Linked DNA regions of Homo sapiens: regions 2, 3 and 4 are each linked to region 1. The links are contacts of gene promoters, found by promoter capture Hi-C in human tissues and cell types (Jung and others, 2019). All regions are on one chromosome and are shown on one strand. The core of a region is centred on a gene start or on the middle of the fragment in contact, and the rest is flanking DNA. Distances in the headings are between cores, read along the strand shown. Region 1 holds the start of RDH12 (retinol dehydrogenase 12). Region 2 has its middle 20 kb from the start of PLEKHH1. Region 3 holds the start of LOC105370542 (a long non-coding RNA gene). Region 4 overlaps TMEM229B (transmembrane protein 229B).

Evidence for each region. The method cuts DNA at HindIII sites, captures the fragments that hold promoters and counts their contacts. A contact is called where the count stands out against the background at its distance.
Region 2: a contact is called between a fragment that was not itself captured here and the fragment with the promoter of RDH12 in region 1, in 2 of the 25 tissues and cell types used here (dorsolateral prefrontal cortex and hippocampus).
Region 3: a fragment that was not itself captured here is called in contact with the fragment with the promoter of RDH12 in region 1 in 1 of the 25 tissues and cell types used here (hippocampus).
Region 4: a contact is called between a fragment that was not itself captured here and the fragment with the promoter of RDH12 in region 1, in 1 of the 25 tissues and cell types used here (lymphoblastoid cells).

What each region holds. Positions count from the first base shown.
Region 1 is chr14:67,700,581-67,703,402 of GRCh38, reverse strand. RDH12 (retinol dehydrogenase 12) reads right to left here and starts at 1,517. Exons shown (of 9, transcript NM_152443.3): 1 at 1,468-1,517. It also overlaps a transcript of GPHN not described here. The HindIII fragment of the contact is 5,475 bases long and covers 1-2,822 here.
Region 2 is chr14:67,512,151-67,515,130 of GRCh38, reverse strand. It overlaps a transcript of GPHN not described here and a transcript of TMEM229B not described here. Among named protein-coding and RNA genes, the nearest start is that of PLEKHH1, 20 kb to the left of the region's middle. RefSeq lists a silencer at 42-171. The HindIII fragment of the contact is 8,257 bases long and covers 1-2,980 here.
Region 3 is chr14:67,466,483-67,469,259 of GRCh38, reverse strand. LOC105370542 (a long non-coding RNA gene) reads left to right here and starts at 544. Exons shown (of 3, transcript XR_007064213.1): 1 at 544-819; 2 at 1,395-2,777. It also overlaps a transcript of GPHN not described here. The HindIII fragment of the contact is 4,920 bases long and covers 1-2,777 here.
Region 4 is chr14:67,485,678-67,488,671 of GRCh38, reverse strand. It overlaps TMEM229B (transmembrane protein 229B), which reads left to right. Exons shown (of 3, transcript NM_001348543.2): 1 at 1-164; 2 at 1,500-1,672. It also overlaps a transcript of GPHN not described here. Among named protein-coding and RNA genes, the nearest start is that of TMEM229B, 1.5 kb to the left of the region's middle. RefSeq lists enhancers at 1-239, 1-376, 540-609. The HindIII fragment of the contact is 6,771 bases long and covers 1-2,994 here.

The DNA of each region.
Region 1 (2,822 bases), core at 268-2,767:
AGTTCAAGCTAAAATGTTAACATTAAAAACCTAACTCTAAACTCATTTGAAACTGAATAAAAGGATAAAAGATTTTTAAAATAAAACTGCCATCGAACTACCTTACCCAAAAATTTTGGCTCACAGCCTTCATTAGATTACCTATTGGGACAAATAAAATTTAGCCATGTGAACTAACAGGTCCCAATTTTTTCCAAAAATAATTTAGATCCAACTATCTTTTATAAACTGGTGAGTTTGTATTACTATCTCATGACTAAAATTCTAAAATGAAAACTATAAGGGCCAGATGAGGTGACTCATGCCAGCAGTCCCAGCACTTTGGGAGGCCAAGGTAGGAGGATCATTTGCGCCCAGGAGCTCAAGACCAGCCCTGGCAACATAGTGAGACTCTGACTCTACAAAAAAAAAACTTTTTTAAGTTAGCTGGGCATGGCGGCACGCACCTGTAGTCCCAGGTACTCAGGAGGCTGAGGTGGGAGAATCACTTGAGCCTGGGAGGTCCAGGCTGCAGTGAGCCATGGTCATACCACTGCTCTCTACCCTGGGCAACAGAGTGAGGCCCTGTTTCAAAAGACAAATCAAAAAATAAAGGTATAAGATCTCTATTTGTGCATATATATGTGTGTTTAGATGTGTTTACATATATACATGTAATATGTTATATGTTGTATCTACATGATACCCAATTGACTTATAGATAAATGAGCACTCATAAATTAGTAAGCCCAAAGGTTTTCCAAGTTCACATGACTTAAGTAATTCTTTAATAAATAAACTGGCTTTAAAATTATTAGTAAAATAAATATTAAAATGTCTTCAAAATTGTCAACATACATATTTGCCTAGATTTATGGTCAGATTTATACTTGTCTTATTAAATATTTTACAGGGTCAGGATTTGGCACAAAGGTAAAAAACTATGAACCCAGCCAAAACCAAAATAATCTTTGTGTGATTTTTTTTATAAGTAAGACTAATTTAATATTGTTGGTTTAAGAAATACAGCTAAACCTTCTGAGTTATCAACAAAATACCCATGTATTTAACTTTAAATTTCTTGCTTAGGTAAATATCTGACATTCACAGGCTATAAAAATGGTTAATAGAAAAAAACTTAAAAAACTGAGCACAGGCCAGGCATGGTGGCTCATGTGTGTAATCCTAGCACTTTGGGACCCTAAGGTGGGAGAATCACTTGAGCTCAGGAGTTTGAGACCAGCCTGGGCAACATAATGAGATCTCATCTCCATTTAAAAAATATATATATATTAAATTTTTAAAAAAGCTGGGCACAGTGGTTCATGACTGTTATCCTAATGCTTTAGGAGGCCAAGGCAGGTGGATCATTTGAGATCAGGAGTTCAAGACAAGCCTAAGCAACATAGTGAGACACTGTCTCTACAACACAGTGAGATACTGTCTCTACAAAAATTTTGAAAATTAGTCTGGCATGGTGGCACTTACCTGTAGTCCTGGCCACTCAGGAAGCTGAGAAGGGAGGATTGCTTGTGCCCAGGAGTTGAGGTTACGATGAGCTGATCATGCCACTGCATGATAATAATTTATTACATGGTAAATTATTTTCCTAAAGCAAAATGACAGGTTAATTATAAAAGAGAAAGGGTAGGGCAAAACAAAAGTTCAAACATGTCATAAATAGTCTACAGAAATCATAATAGGCCTGGCGTGGTGACTCATGCCTGTAATCCCAGCACTTTGGGAGGCTGAAGTGGGCGGATCACAAGGTCAGGAGTTCGAGACCAGCACAGCCAAAATGGTGAAACCTCATCTCTACTAAAAATACAAAAAGTAGCCAGGTATGGTGGCGCATGCCTGTAGTCCCAGCTACTCGGGAGGCTGAGGCGGGAGAATCACTTGAACCTGGAATGCGGAGTTTGCAGTGAGCCAAGATAGTGACACTGTACTCCAGCCTGGGCAACAGACTCCATCTCAAAAAAAAAAAAAAAAAAAAAAGAAATTATAATAAAGTTCTTTAAAATTTTTTTAAATGTATATGTGATTAAGTTGGCTATAATCAAAAAAAAGTTATAAGTGTTTCTAAAGATTGAGATTTTGGTCCTCTATGTTAAAATAACATTGTCTTAAAGTATAAATTTGCTCTTAGTGAATTACAAGAGCTTTTGATTTTAAATTCTACAATCTATTTCTTTTCTAAAACTTCTCAAATTTATATCTCAAAAAATTCTACTTGTGCTATACCTCGCTGCACATGATTCCCAAGTCATGAATCGTTGTTGTTCGTTCTTTATACCCTTAAAAAGATACATGTTTTTCTTGGTTGAAATGATAATCCTCTCCTTCAACCTTTTTGTCAACTTCTGTAATCTTTGACTTTTTTTTTTTTTTTTTTTTTTGAGATGAAATTTTGCTCTTGTCACCCAGGCTGGAGTGCAGTGGCAAGATCTCCGCTTACTGCAACCTCCGCCTCCCAGGTTCAAGTGATTCTCCTGCCTCAGCCTCCGAGTAGCTGGGATTAGAGGCATTCGCCGCCGTGCCCAGCTAATTTTTGTATTTTTAGTAGAGACAGAGTTTCATCATTCTAGCCAGCCTGGTCTTAAACTCCTGACCTCAGCTGATCCACCCGCCTCGGCCTCCCGAAGTGCTGGGATTGCAGGCATGAGTCACCATGCCCAGCCAACTTCTGTAATTTTTTTTTTTTTTTTTGAGATGGAGTCTTGCTGTGTCACCCAGGCTGGAGTGCAGTGCCGCGATCTAGGCTCACTGCAAGCTCCGCCTCCCAGGTTCACGCCATTCTCCTGCCTCAGCCTCCCGAGTAGCTGGGACTACAGGCGCCCGCC
Region 2 (2,980 bases), core at 388-2,887, 190 kb after region 1:
GGCCGGCTCTGCCCAGCCCCTACCCACGGCCCCGGCCCCGCACCGGTAGGTGCCCCCTATGCCCGCAGAGAGGCCTTTCCGCCGCCCAGAGAGGTGGCCGCGAGGGGCCGGCAGCTCCGACCGCGGAGGGCGCGGGCGATGGGGACGGTGAGGGGAAGACTGGGCGACCGGACTTGGGGCTGTAGCAGATCCCGCTTCCTCTTTGCTTTCGGTTTCGAGGCTGCTGCCCCGGTTCGAGATCCAGCCGCAGATTAGATAGGTGGTGCGCCCGGGGCTTGGATTCCCTGCGGGGGATGGGCGCACAGGGGGGCGTGTTGGGGAAGGGGGTGCGCGTTGGCAACTTTCCCTGCCTGAAACAAAGGGGTGTCAGGGGGAAGCGAGGGGCAGCGGTAGGTTGACACCTCCTCTTCTTCCGGGCGGAGAGCACCCAGGAGGCCACCTCAGCAGGGTGGAGGGGGGTGACAGTCTGGGTGGAAGCTGGGGAGCCAGGGCTTGGGAGTGGAAACCAAGGACCCTCCTGAATTAGAGGCTGAGGACTTTCCAGAAGGGAAGGGAACGCTGCCAAAATGACCCCGCCGCCTTCTCCCCAGGGTGCATGGAAAAACTGGGTGATGGACCCCACACCTAGGCGCCCTCCACTCCCCAGGTCCGTGTCCTGGGGCCCAGCCCAGCCCCCTGGCTGCCAGCTCTTCACCTGCCCTCCCTGATCTCTGGTCCTCCGTGAGAGATGCCTGGCTGGGATGGGGAGTGTTACAGCCCGGTTCCTGGCAAGGGCAGGGAGACATTGGCCTCTTTCCCAGGTATCTTCCTTTCCCTCTTTCTATGCTCAGTCAGAAACGGACCCCTTTCCCTTCCTTCCCGGGGACTGTCTCTTTTCTTTCCCCAGGGTTTCCCTGGGGGTGTTTGGCTGCCTTAGGTACAGAGCTTGGAGATAGGAGGGCAGAGTGTTCGGGCACTGCTCAAGGCTCTCCCTGGAGGGAAAGAGCAGGACCCCAGGCAGCTTTCTGCTGGTGTAACCTTGGGGGCTCTGCTCACCAATTCTCATGTGTTCTCAGCACCCTAGTAATAAGTGAGCTATTGCTGTGGCTATCAGCCTTGGGTAATTGAGAGGCCTGGGTTTCTCTCTGCTGTACCAGGAAGAGGGATCAAGGGAGGGCCAAGCAACCTGCCTTGGGGGTGGTACAGTGTCTTTCTCTCTAGAAAACAAATGGGCCAGGTTCCAGGTCCCCAGTGCTTGGCCTTATGTCTCCAGGAACAAGGTGCCTTCAGTTCTGAGCTGGCTTACATGTGACCACCAGCTCCTATCCTGTGGCAGGATAGCCCTTTGGGAGCTCAGATTTTTTTCCCTGTTTGGAAGACAGATACATCTGCTTCCCTGTGAGACAGAAGGCACTGGAGGGCCCTAGACTGGTGGAGGACTCTCCCGCCTGCCTGTGTGAATGACCTAATGATACAAGGATACAAGTAGGTTGGGCCAGGGTGGGCCTGTCAGGACACTTTGCTCTAGAGACACTTTGCTCAGGGGTGTGCTGAGATGACACTTAGCCCCCATCAGGGGCTTTGTGTTTGGAGACAGATACAGGCAACTGGGGACACAGCATGGCAGGCGTTGGGTGGGGACAACAGGCTTTTTTAGTGTTGATTTTGGCCACTTATAGGTACAGGAGCAACGGAGGTTCCAGGACCAATAAGGAGTAGCAGGAGAAAACTGAGTCCCCTGAGCTATAGATTTGTGGCCCTGCAATTTGTGGCTAAAGTCAGATGCAGGTACTGCACCAGAGAAGCACAGCTAGGCCCACTTCTATGGACCTTCCCATTCTAACAGGCAGGCAGGATTGATTTCACTCAATTCCCCACTGGAGCGGCTTTATTGGTTTGTCCCAAGCTATTTATTCGGAGCTGAGGATAATGATATGGAGGCCTGACCTCCGAGCCTCCAGTGGTTAGAGGATGGGCTTTTCCGTGGCATGTTCCTCAAATGTACTGACCTTAAGATGGGAAATTGATACTCTCCTAACTTCCTGTTTTGAAGTGATGAGGCATGAATTTTTACATTTATAAAGTGATTTAAGACCCTCAAGTCCTTGAATGAAAGATATTAAATGAGTTAGTGAGCCTTATACTGTGTTTATTTCGGTTGTATCAGATTTACATATTGTTTCTAAAGGGAAAGGTGTCATTTTACAGGAAGGGACCAAATTACAGCTTTTGTGATAGGCAAAGCTCAGTGTTGGTTTTAAAAGTGTAGTTTTTATCAGAAAAGCTCTCGCTGCAGCACTTAGGCAGCAAGCTTTTTTTTCTGCTTACCTCCCAGGATGGCTTGGAGCTCCTTCCTGGTGGGCTTTTTCCTGGTGTACAGTTTCCAGCTAGAATGTTAGTGACTGTCACCTTCCAGTTTCTGAGGAGGGTCTCCGATGATGTTGGGGACTCTGATGTCATAAGGAAAGACCTGGGTAAGGGCAGTAGAGTGAGGCAGCTTGGTCTTATCGGCAACTGTATCAGATCTGGCTGTCCTTGAGGGGAGGGAAGGGATAGCTAACCCTCCCAGAGCCTGGCTGTTTTCAAGTTTGTATGCTTTTACTTTTCTCCTCCCCCATCTCCCTACCTCCCATATACAGACAAGGTGGTCTGGGTGTATTTTTGAATTGCAGGAACATTCCTTTTAAGGCAAGGATAATTTCTGACCTGGCAAAGCCTTAGCTCCCTTTGTGGCAACACCTGGCTAAGGAGGGAATATCAGACAGGATTCTCATGTTCTGAGCTGAGGAATTTCAGCCTCTATTGGCCAGATCTTCTTCTTACTCTACATCACTTCTCAGAAATCAGGCTTTGTATTTGAAAAGTAAAGTGTAAGCTGATTTCTAGGGAAGGGGTAGGAGGGGGGCACTTTTGGTTTGGTTCCCCTTAGGGAAACTGAGTCCCACTGAGAGTTGTCACACTGGCTGTGGTGTGTGAGAATGCATGTGTTGGGGAAATTTTC
Region 3 (2,777 bases), core at 49-2,548, 230 kb after region 1:
CCCCTGTCACAGCTGGGTTATAGAACACCCACTGCTTTTCTGGATGGAGTAGACAGTGTGCTTTCTAAATCATCGGGAGGGCCCTCTGCCTCCCTCACTTGAAGGTTTTCATTTCTTTGGCTGAAAGCTTTTTCCCTTATGAAAATGAGATAGCATAAATCCCCAGCAGTCATTTACATGTTAGCATAAACAAATATACAAGGTAGTTCTCTCAGAACAAGATTTTATAGAAAGAGGCAAGCAAAATGAAACAGGGTCTCCTTTATGGAGCTTCAGAGAAGAGGCAAGAGGCAGGTCCCCGAGCGAGAAGACTGAGGGGGCCCAAGACCCTTTTTTTTTTAAAAAAAATTATTATTATTATTTTTGAGACAGAATCTCACTCTATTACCCAGACTGGAGTGCAGTGGTGCAATCCCAGCTCACTGCAACCTCCGCCTCCCAGGTTTAAGTGATTTTCCTGCCTCAGCCTCCCAAGTAGCTGGGATTACAGGTGCATGCCACCAGGCCCGGCTAATTTTTGTATTTTTTAGTAGAGACGGGGTTTTGCCATGTTGGCCAGGCTGGTCTTGAACCCCTGACCTCAGGTGATCCACCCGCCTCGGCCTCCCAAAGTGCCAGCTACTTCCCTACTCTAGTCAGTGGGCGCCTGCCTTTCTCGACACTTTCCTTCCTCACCTCCTCCACCCCTCCCTCACCCAATCCAAAGGGCACTAACAACACTAGGTGGAGAGAAATGCCCCAGGAGAGCTAACACTAAGGACTTCATCCACGTCTTCTGAAGTCTGCCTGGACTTTGTGAAAGCCTAATGTTTACTGACAGTGAGTACATGACTGTAGTCTTGCCTGGTCTTCCTGGGTGCCTGTCTCAGAAGGCTGCAATGTTTAGACTGCCCCGGTACAACCAAGGGAGGGAAACAGAGGAAAAAGGAGTGACTGATTCCTCATACAGCAGGTTAGAGGAGCCAGGTCTTACAAATTGAAACACTGGCCAGGTGCGGTGGCTCAAGCCTATGATCCCAGCACTCTGGGAGCCCGAGGCGGGTGGATCACCTGAGGTCAGGAGTTAGAGACCAGCGTGGCCAACATGGTGAAACCCCATCTCTACTAAAAATCCAAAAATTAGCTGGGTGTGGTAGCGTATGCCTGTAATCCCAGCTACTCGGGAGGCTGAGGCAGGACAATCGCTTGAACCCAGGAGGCAGAGGTTGCAGTGAGCCGAGATCGCACCATTGCACTCTAGCCTGGGTGACAGAGCAAGACTCCACCTTAAAAAAAAAAAAATTGAAATAGCAGTTGTGGTTCCCAGGCTAGCCTCAAGACTGCCAGTACCGTGACTGCGGCCAGGCACTGAACTTTGGGCCCTGCATGCATGCTCTCATTTCTTCCCATTTCAGATGGCCACCATTATTTCTGTTTTATGGGAGAGGTCTGTTGGCAAAGAGTCGGCCACCCAGATTTACCACATTTCTCTGCAGAACACTCTTTTGTTCAATATAAGCAGAGACCTTCCACCGGGGGCAGGATTTGTGGTGAGTCCAATACCCCTTTGTACTTGATGAGTTTCTGGATGCCTTTTGAGTCCAGCTCATGTGGGTGCTATTTGCAGTTAAATTAAAATGTTTGGGAATGGGATGGAAGGGAGAGAGAGGGAGTTATAAGAAAGGAGGTGTAGAATGCTGTCTTAGCCAAGACTTAAGACAATTGGCACAAAGATCCCGCCTAGTGGAGGAGAGCTGTGAAATTGTGGCCTCTACCAATGCTGAGTTTAGCCTTGATACCCTCTCCCCTCCCTCCCTCCTTCCCACCCACAGCCTTCTTTTTGCCCTGGGCCTTTTCTCTTTCATCCTATTTCCTTGTCTTGGCATGAAACCTGGGCCCCTGGCTGTCAGTACCTTCAGAGTGTTTGAAACTACCAGCTGAAACCTTTCTCCTAACAAGATAAGAACCTTCTGCTGGTGCCTTCTGAAAACCCAGATAGGACTGAGAACTGACCTGTTTAACTCATCAACTCCTTATTAGATACCTGCAGTGAGCCAAGGACCAGGCTAGTTCCTGTGATGCTGAAGATGTTGAAGGGAAGCCCATAACATTACAACGTTGACCAATCCTCCAGAAAAGAAGCTCTAACAGAGGACCCTGGCTGTCTACGGGGTTGGGTAAGGATTCTTCCAGGAAGAGACACTTTTCACACACTCAAAGGTTGATAGGTTGATTACTGATACTTTCAGAGATAGGCTGGAGTCTTTTTTTTTTTTTTTTTTTTTTGAGATTGGGTCCCCCTCTGTCGCCCAGGCTGGAGTGCAGTGGCGCGATCTCGGCTCACTGCAACCTCCACCTCCCGGGTTCAGGTGATTCTCCTGCCTCAGCCTCCTGAGTAGCTGGGATTACAGGCCCGTGCCACCATGCTCGGCTAATTATTTTGTATTTTTAATAGAGATGGGGTTTTGCCATGTTGGCCAGGCTAGTCTTGAGCTCCTGACCTCAGGTGATCCACCTGCCTTGGCCTCCCAACATGTTGAGATTACAGGGGTGAGCCACTGTGCCTGGCCCAGGCTGGAATCTTATTGTCCAGAAGTGCAGACATTTACTGTGCCCTGCAAGGTGCCTAGCTGGGTACAGTGCCGAACAAAGGAAGCACGTAGTGAGTGCTTTAAGAAACTCTTGACAAGTGGAGTCTTAGTGAACCCACCCTAAAGGCCAGGCTGAGTGTTCCAGAACACCAGTTCCCAGGCTCTTTTGGGAACTTGAAGCTAGGAATCTATTTAGACAACAACCAT
Region 4 (2,994 bases), core at 9-2,508, 210 kb after region 1:
TCTCCACAGGTGGGATTGAACTCCCCAGGCACATGGTCCTTGTGGTGCTGGTGGAGAGAGAGTCCCAGAGGGTTCGGACATGCTCCGTTAAAACCTTTTCCTCAAGGTGATAGGTACGTGTCAAGGTGACCCCTGTCCGCCATCCGGCAGGCTGGAAGAAGCCGGTAAGATGGACAGATCAGGGAGGGTTGGAGGGTCCCGTTTGTGAAGGAGCTGGGGAGGGGGAGGCAAGGCTGAGCACAGCAGCCCACTGTGATGCTCTCAGTGCAGAGGCCCCGGGGGGAGACCCAGGGGGGCACCCCCCAAAACCACACCATACAGTGAGTTTCAGTTCCCCCACTCCTGCCCTTTCACTTCTCCTCGGCTGCCTGGCTGCCTCACAGGTTGTCAGCTTGAGCAAGGGCCCAAGCGGCCTCTACTCAGAGACCCTGGTGGTCAGAGGGGAGTGGGGAAGGTGGACATGGGCATCAGCACAGACCAGCACCTCTGGTCCATCCTGCCTGGTCATCCACAGGGGAGTGCCAGCTCCCACCCCCAGCCACATACTGTTCTCAGCTTCTGAGTGGCTGGGCTGTCCCAGAGGGCCATGCTGGGCCTGAGTGCTGTCCTTGGGCATATGCAGATGGTGTTGTATCCAGGGGGTTTTCAGGGAAGCTTTAGCACTTTCATATTAAAACAAAAAATGTTGGAATCTCCATTAAATAGTCAAGTCTTAGGGATAGTAGTAAAAACATGGCTGTACATGGCTGGCCAGGCACAGTGGCTCACGCCTATAATCCTAGCACTTTGGGAGGCTGAGGTGGGAGGGTTGGCCAAGAGCTTGAGACCAGCCTGGTCAACATAGCAAGACCCGTCTCTACTTGATTTTTTTTTTTAAAGTACATGGCAAAGGGCATTATAAAGTAAGATTTGTATTAGCTTGTAGCTGGTTACTGATGTTCATAGGAAGGGCCTCAACCATAATAATGGTGAAATAATAAAATGAGATGAATAAATATTAGAGAGGTAGAATAGTACGTAGAAAGGTTTAGCACACATTTTGTTTTTCTGCACGAGTGGTTGTTCTCTGCTTTCAAAGTGCTGAAACGAATGTCCTACATTGTCTGCCTTCCATGAGGTTCTGACCGCCCTTGAGAACAGATGTACCCACTACAGGGTGAAGGTGAGAATGTAATTTGAAGCTGAATGAGAATGGAGCTGGATTCTAAAATTATATCCCCTCTCAGATTCACAAGTGTTCACACATTTAGGCAAGAAGCCCTAAGTCCTAACCCTGGACATGTGGATTGTCCAGGACCATCCCAGACTTTTGTGGCTGGATTAATCAGACCTGAGCAAACTGGATGCAAAGAGGAGGGGGTAGGTTCCGGGAAGGGGCCCTGGTGGCCAGGGTGGGATGAGTGTCTGGTGCTGAGCCCAGAGCCCAGGCCCTTGCAATGTTTTTCTTGGATCTGCTGGGGGCAGTTTAAGCTAATAAAAGCCTCCTCTTTTATTCCCAGGGACACATGGAAGCTGCCAGCCCCCCAGCCAAGGATCAGCTGAGCCCTAGGGCTGATGCTTGCCTACGTTGCTGAGAATGGCACTGAGGCCCAGCCAACAAAGGTTAACCCAGGACACTCCTGGACAGTGATCCTGATGTCTGTTGTGAGCTGCACACTCAAGGGTGTGATAAGTGAGTATGTTACAAGCACCCAGGGGATCACCAGCCCAGCGATCCTGCCTGCTCGGCACCTCATCAGCATGGGCACGAGTCTGGAGGTTCTAGTTCTGAGTCTGTTCCCCATCCAAGGTCCTGTCACAGGGCAATGGGAGGGGAATGTCAAGCAATATTGGGCCATCACATGCGGGAGCCGTCTTATGGCCACATGGCCTCTAAAATCCAGGCCAGACCCAGTGTATTAGTTTGTTTTCGTGCTGCTGATAAAGACATACGTAAGAGTGGAAAATGTATACAGAAAAAGAGGGTTAATTCCACGTGTCTGGGGAAGCCTCACAATCATGGTGGAAGGCAAGGGGAAGCAAGTCACATATTACAAGGTTGGTAGCAAGCAGAAAGAGAGCTTGTGCAGGGAAACTCTCCCTTATAAAACCATCAGATCAGCCGGGCACTGTGGCTCACGCCTGTAATCCCAGCACTTTGGGAGGCCGAGGTGGGTGGATCGCAAGGTCAACAGATTGAGACCATCCTGGCCAACATGGTGAAACCCCATCTGTACTAAAAATACAAAAATTAGCTGGGCATTGTGGCATGCACCTGTGGTCCCAGCTATTCAGGAGGCTGAGGCAGGAGAATCGCTTGAACCTGGGAGGCAGAGGTTGCAGTGAGCCAAGATCGTGCCATTGCACCCCAGCCTGGCAACAGAGCAAGACTCTGTCTCAAAACAAAACAAAACAAAAACCCATCAGATCTCATGAGATTTATTCACTATCACAAGAACAGCATGAGAAAGACCTGGCCCCATGATTCAATTACCTCCCACCCAGTTCCTCCCACAACATGGTGGAAATTCAAGATGAGATTTGGGTGAGGACACAGCCAAACCATATCATTCAGATTGTCTGGCGTGAGTGAAGCGAGCACTCACACCTGGGAAACAGCATCTACTTTGGCCGTCAGGCTTCAGATCTGTGCAGTGAGGACCATGCATCACCTGGGACTGGACTCTGCCCAGAAGCCATGAGCAATGCATGTGCTGCTGGTCTAGGAGGCCTGGAGTAGGGCATCCAGGGCCCTGGGAGGTGGGGGGATTTGTGAGCCTTAGCTGCCATAAGAGTGACCACCAGGGGATCTGGAGGAGCATGTCCTCTTGCTTTTGTCACATATCAGCAGCAGCATCTCCTCCTCAGCGAGACAAGCTCGAGGTAGGGTGAGAGGCTCCTAACTGCACAGCCCTGCCTGTCCTCACAGGCCTTTCTTTCCAGCCTCAGCCCCTGGCTTTTCCTTGATGATGCCTTAAAAAATGACAATTGGCTGCTTTCCCAACCCCCAGAGGC